Linked DNA regions of Homo sapiens: region 1 is linked to region 2. The links are contacts of gene promoters, found by promoter capture Hi-C in blood cells and fetal thymus (Javierre and others, 2016). All regions are on one chromosome and are shown on one strand. The core of a region is centred on a gene start or on the middle of the fragment in contact, and the rest is flanking DNA. Distances in the headings are between cores, read along the strand shown. Region 1 overlaps CASK (calcium/calmodulin dependent serine protein kinase). Region 2 holds the start of GPR34 (G protein-coupled receptor 34).

Region 1 (3,355 bases), core at 786-3,285, 140 kb after region 2:
AAGTTTTGAAGCTATACTCATCAAAGATTACTAGTACATTGTTTCTAGCGGTAGAAGTTTTTTGTGTCGTATTTCCATGCATCGTTTTTGCTTTCACCATCTGATGTCCTGTTTGTATTGTAACTGTTGGTGTGTGGTTATGACATTAGAGCTAACTTCTCTTTCACATCACTATGGCATCCTTTCTTACGAACTCCTGTTTTATAGATCTATGTAAGAGCACAATTTGAATATGATCCAGCCAAGGATGACCTCATCCCCTGTAAAGAAGCTGGCATTCGATTCAGAGTTGGTGACATCATCCAGATTATTAGTAAGGATGATCATAATTGGTGGCAGGGTAAACTGGAAAACTCCAAAAATGGAACTGCAGGTCTCATTCCTTCTCCTGAACTTCAGGAATGGTATGTTTTTATGCGTGTTTTGCTTTGCTTGGTTATAAAAACAAAGCCCTGACCATCCATTTTCCAATTTTATATTATTTTAGAGTGTAAAACCTGTTTGATATATTCCTTCCTTTACGAGCCAAACAAAATTTAAATTAGTCATCCAAGAATTCTATATCTTCAGTATCTAGTGAGATCCTAGTTGCAGAGTCAGGGCTTCATTTTACACAAAAAGAAAGGAAGGTCTGGAAAGAGATTGGATGAGCAGCCCTGAGCCAAGTCATGGTCTCACAGCAGAGCCCTCCACTCCTATATGCTGTTATAATTGTTTTAGAATGGCATTAAAAAAATGTACGTTCTCCTTGCCCTTCTACATGCTTTCATGCCCATCCCATTCCCACCACCAGCAAAAAATGTAGGTGCAGTGCTTCAGTGTCACTCAGAGTATTTGAAGATAAAATGTATTTCACTGTTAGAAGGAGGTAGTCAGAAGCTTTGTTCTTTACCTTGCCAGTCCTTTAAAAATACCTTTTCTGCTAGAAAGTTTAAGCCCTAAAAGCAGGCTAAAGTTAGGGGTTTTAGGCACTGTTTTTAACTGAGAGAAAAGGAGTCACAGATCACTGTATATTTTGATAAAATCTATTTCTGCTATTATTGTTACCGTTTCCTTAGTTGAACTGTCTTTTGGAAAATATTGATGGTTTTACCTTTGTTGGTACTTGGGCAATATACCAGATTATTTCTAGCACAAAAGAGATAATGTCTGAGTTTTGTTTCATGTGGCAAAAAATAACAGCCATTAAGCATCCTGCCAGTTCCTCCTAAAATACTTGAACCCAGCTAAAAGAGACCAAAGACATTGAGTCCATAGAAATTTCTACCTGCTTTTATCTATTTTTCTCACTAGTTAAGAGATTTCTCAGTTAATCTCTTTTGCTTGATCGCCTCTTTCAGCTATCCCATGTTTCCCCAAAAAATAGTATTAAATTTAGAATGTTGGAGCTGATGAGGACTTCAGATGCCATCATTTTATACATAAGGAAACGTGGGCCCAAATGGAGAAGCAGCAGCCTTCCATCTGGCATTGTCTTTCAGTCTGATCTTCGAGAAACAGTTCAAGCATAAGCAGGAGGAAAGCAATCTTTAAGTCGTTGCCGTGATGATGCCATTATATTCTTACTGATATTTACATTTTACAGAATGTCTTCTTTAATGTTACCATATATTATGGGCATTTATTGAAAATAATTGTGTAGATTCCAGACCTCTTCTGCCTAGTCAGATCATCTATATAAATGTTTCACCAATTTCTAGAACTCTGAGTCCTCTGGAGGAATCCTGAGTGATGGCAGTGCAAAAAGCAGATTTGCTTCCTATTTCCTGTAATGGTGGATGAGATTATTTGGATAAATCCTCCTGATGAAAAAAAATGAAAAGTGCCGCAGAAAATATGTTTTTCAAATGACCTTGAAAGCACTGAATAGCTGAAAAGGTATCAGGGGCCAGGCATGGTGGCTCACACCTGTAATCCTAGCACTCTGGGACGCCGAGGTGGGCAGATCACTTGAGGTCAGGAGTTCGAAGCTAGCCTGACCAACATGGTAAAACCCTGTCTCTACTTGAAATAAAAAAAAAAAAAAAAATTAGCCAGGTGTGATGGCAGGCACCTATAATCCCAGCTACTTGGGAGGCTGAGGCAGGAGAATTGCTTGAGCCCGAGAAGTGGAAGTTGCAGTGAGCCGTGATCGCGCCACTGCACTCTAGCCTGGACGACAGAGTGAGACTCTGTGTCCGGGAAATAAAAAAAGGTACTGGGGAGCTCAGTGACCAATTTTTTTTTTTTTTTTTTTTTTTTTTGAGACGGAGTCTCGCCCTGTGGCCCAGGCTGCAGTGCAATGGCATGATCTCAGGTCACTGCAACCTCTACCTCCTGGGTTCAAACAATTCTCCTGCCTCAGCCTCCTGAGTAGCTGGGATTACAGGCACCCGCCACCACATATTTTTAGTAGAGACAGGGTTTCACCATGTTGGCCAGGCTGGTCGTGAACTCCTGACCTCGTGATCCACCCACTTTGGCCTCCCAAAGTGCTGGGATTACAGGTGTGAGCCACCACACCAGGCCTCAGTGACCAATTTTTATGTGAAAGCCTTTAATAAGAATGATAAGTGGAATATCAGAGTTACCAAGTGGCCCATTTTGCAAACAGGGCATTTGTCATTACTGAACACTTCTGTGCCAGAGAACCAAGGTTAAGATCTAAGGCCAGTACAAGTTGGGGAATCTGTTAGAAGACCCTCCTCATTGTTAGGAGTGCAAGAGGCAGTCCCCCCAGGCTAAAAGGAAACAGATAAGCATACCCTTATTTCCCTTCAACACCGGAGGACTATAGAGAAAGCTGCCTTGTCACTGAGCAAAGCAAAAGATGAGGAAATTGGGAACAAACTTCCAAATTGTGGCCACCAGTCCACCTTGAATGGATTTGCACCCAGGTACACACAGCCTGGGGCAGCCAGGGGAGCTGAAGCCATGTACTTGATTTGAAGTTTCCCCTTTCTTTACTAATAGTTTCAGATGTATGGTATAAACAGAAAGTCTCTGAAGGCAAACACTTTTATCCTAACCCCCACTAACTTCATCCTATCCGCCCGACATAAACTTTTTCCAGGGCAGTAGCCAGCAAGTCAAAATTATCAGGCACACAAGGAAACAAGTAAGACCCAACAGAAATGACAGATAGTAGAAACAAACCCAAACCTACTGCATATATTGGAATTAAGAGACAAAGATTTTAAAAATAAGCTTACGAAGTTGGTTCGTTTGTTTTTGAGACAAGGTATTGTGCTCTCGCCCAGGCTGGAGTGCAATGGCATGATCATGGCTCACTGCAGCCTCGACCTCCTGGACCCAAGCAATCCACCCACCTCAGCCTTCCCAGTAGCTGGGACAACAGGCGTGCACCACCACACCC
Region 2 (3,409 bases), core at 908-3,407:
TGGACAAATCTGTCAGTAAGCATTTCTGGTTTTGCTTTAGTCTTCAGTTTAAAGAGCATAAAGCAAAGCCAGTGCATTTGTTTATGTTATAATAGTGGCCATCATTTAGAACTATGTATTAGACAGCTAGCATACAATTATTGATTCACAAATTGACAGCTGAGCGCCATGGTTCATGCCTGTGATCCCAGCACTTTGGGAGGCTGAAGTGGGAGGATCACTTGAGTTCAGGAGTTCTAGACCAGCCTGGGCAAGATGGTGAAACCCTGTCTCTACAAAAAGTATAAAAATTAGCGGGTATGGTGACGTGCGCCTATAGTCCCAGCTACTCGAGAGGCTAAGGTGGGAGGATCGCTTGAGCCTGGGAAGCAGAGGTTGCAGTGATCCTAGATCACTCCACTGTACTCCAGCCTGGGTGACGGAGTAAGACCTTGTCTCAAAAAAAAAGAACATAAAAAAAAAAAAAATTGGCCGGGAGCAGTGGTTCATGCCTGTAATCCCAGCACTTTGGGAGGCCGAGGCAGGCAAATCACTGGAGTCCAGGAATTCGAGACCAGCCTGGCCAACATAGCGAAACCCTGCCTCTACTAAAAAATACCAAAAAAAAAAAAAAAAATTAGCAGGGCGTGGTGGCACGCACCTGTAGTCCCAGCTACTCCGGAGGCTGAGGCTGGAGAATTGCTTGAACCCGGGAGACAGAGGCTGCAGTGAGCTGTGTTCATGCCACTGTACTCTAGCCTGGGCAACAGAGCGAGAGTCTGTCTCAAAAAAAAATTTTTTTTTTAATTAAAAATCACAATTACATTCTGTTTTAAACTTGGTGACTGTTTTTTTTTCTCCTTTGAAGTTGGTTAGTACATTACAATGTCATTCACTATATAAGGCTATTTACTGATATTTTTTAAACTACCTGTTTGATATGTTAAGAATTGCTTGTGAAGACAAGAAACAAACCACTGTGTTTACATAGGGGATTAATTTCCCAGTGGGCATTACTTGTGACCCATGTGCTATATTGAAGTGGTCACAATAGTTTTGTAATAGTAGATAGTGTTTTTTAAATGTTGTTACTTGGCAAATCCTATTCACAAGTTCAAAAACCTAGTATTAGTGCATTGTACCCCCGCACCACCACCTACTCCTGCAGTTTTTTTTCAACTGGCTCATGTAGGAGTACTGGACCCAGAGGGCAGGACCCAACAGATTCCACTGTGACTCCAGATGAGCAGAAGCTTTTAAAATGCAGTTTGGGTATGTTTGTGAAAATATCACATTGCTATGTTGAAATACATACCTATTTGGTAATAGTCGCAACCTTTCACCGTTTTTAGTTTGACTTGATAATGACTGAATCTATTCAGGGCATGCTTCAAAATTGCATTAACTGCTGTATAAAAAATGAAAATTGAAAACATATTACTTTGGAAATAATACTATTAATAGTGTGTTAGGTTTTGTTACAAATTTAACTGTGTCCCTAGAAACACATTTTAAAAAATTATTATTTGAACTAAAGCATATTTTGCTTTCTCTCTTATCTAATATTCACCTTATTTACTTCTGAAACACCAAACTTAAATGTTATATGGTCTGGTAATACTATAAAATAGTAATAATATAATAAAGAAAAGACAGTAATTTAAAATAGGGAGACAGCATAACTTAAAGTCAATAAGTTATAATTTATAATACATTAGAAATAAAATGTATTGCATATGAAAATAACTTTTAATTCATGCAAGTAGATCTGCAAAATCTTGATGGCAGTATCCAAATGCAGTATCAACAATGTGACTATATTGACAGTAGGAGCTTAAATACCTTGAATGTCTTAAAGTACTTAAAGTAACTAAAAAGACAGTCTCATTTGAAATCAAGGCAGAGGTGTCATTCAAGCAATTTACTCAGTAGTTCTAAAAGCGAATAACTGCTGACATTAGAGTAGCCTTATCACCATGAATCACGTTTCACTTTGAATGTTCAGATAATCAAATTTTAGCTGAAATAAAGGTTCATTTATGTAGCCGAAATCAAGAAATACTCACAGTTCAGGTTCGCCTGAAGTAAAAGGAGCAGAACCCCAAGCTTCCCTAGACACTGAGACTCGTCTTGGTTGTGTCAGCTGGGCTCTTCCATCCGGTCGTGGTGCAATTGGTTGGGGTTCTCTTCTTTTTTATGTTCATATGTGGTGGTAGGGTTTTTTTTTTCCCCCTCTTTTTTTTTTTCTTTTTTCGGTATGACAACTCTCAGATTCCTTTTGAAAATATTAAAAAGCCCTACTACCATGGAACAACTTTAAGCTCAACCAACACTGAACTTTAGGAAATTATTTATATCTTCTTTATGAATACCTTCCAACTTGACAATTGTGGAATGTTTTCCTCCCCCCGCTCAAAATTTAAAAGTTTTATAAATTCTAAGCAGAAATATGTATTTTCTGTGTTTTGTAAGAAATGATACATAATATGCTATATGGACTTTCAAAGCACAAGCACTGAATTTCTGTTTCTTAAGTTTTCATCTGTACATTATTTTAGCATATTTTCATGTATTCCTTTAAGACCTTTGCTAAAACAAACTTGTATTATTAGGACTAGATGAGATTTCTGATGGTGTTCTCCCCTTTTGATCACTATGATAAACTCTCCCGAGCAAATTAAAACATCACCTGTATTTTAAGCGAAATAATGATGGGATTCTGCAGTCTTGGTTTTGATCCTAGTCCAAAATTTAACCACTATCTGTCCATCTATGTAACTGCTGGCCCTGCAGTTTAGTGTTATTTCCCTTTTTTTGTTGTCATTTGAAATGAAGAAGTTAGTTTTTATTCTCCCCATAATTGTTATCCTGCAGCTTGTTTGCACTAAATATTTGACTCATTGGGCTGTATCTAACATTCTAATTATTTCTGGGTACACTCTTCTGAACATTATATTCTCCAGAGCTTTTTGTTTGTTATAAATATGATTTATGGGACAGGATATTTTTAAATTAATAGAATAAAAATGTTTTGTAGCTCTTACTTCCCCTTAGAACCTCTGAGAAGGAAGGTGGTTGCTGTATTAGTCCTGCAATATTGTTGTATTGGCAGGATTTTATTTTATTGTGGTACAATATGTAACATTAAATTTACCATCTTAACTTTTTTTTTTTTTTTTTTTTTTGAGACGGAGTTTCGCTCTTGTTGCCCAGGCGACAAGAGATTGTACAATGGCACAATCTCGGCTCACTGCAGCCTCCACCTCCCAGGTTCAAGCGATTCTCCTGCCTCAGCCTCCCAAGTAGCTGGGATTACAGACATGCACCACCATGCCCGGCTAATTTTGTATTTTTAATAGAGACAGGGTTTTGCCATGTTGGCCAGGCTAGTTTCAAACTCCTGACCTCAGGTGGTCCACCCACCTCAGCC

The links. Contacts are between HindIII fragments. The CHiCAGO score rates a contact against its expected background, and 5 or more counts as called.
Region 1: a contact is called between a fragment that was not itself captured here and the fragment with the promoter of GPR34 in region 2, in 1 of 17 cell types (M2 macrophages). The highest score is 5.0, in M2 macrophages.

The regions. Positions count from the first base shown.
Region 1 is chrX:41,550,768-41,554,122 of GRCh38, reverse strand. It overlaps CASK (calcium/calmodulin dependent serine protein kinase), which reads left to right. Exons shown (of 27, transcript NM_001367721.1): 21 at 208-404. Among named protein-coding and RNA genes, the nearest start is that of CASK-AS1, 35 kb to the right of the region's middle. The HindIII fragment of the contact is 2,307 bases long and covers 882-3,188 here.
Region 2 is chrX:41,687,721-41,691,129 of GRCh38, reverse strand. GPR34 (G protein-coupled receptor 34) reads right to left here and starts at 2,157. Exons shown (of 3, transcript NM_001097579.2): 1 at 2,046-2,157; 2 at 1,295-1,387. All of the region lies in intron 5 of CASK (calcium/calmodulin dependent serine protein kinase), which reads left to right. The HindIII fragment of the contact is 2,059 bases long and covers 2,088-3,409 here.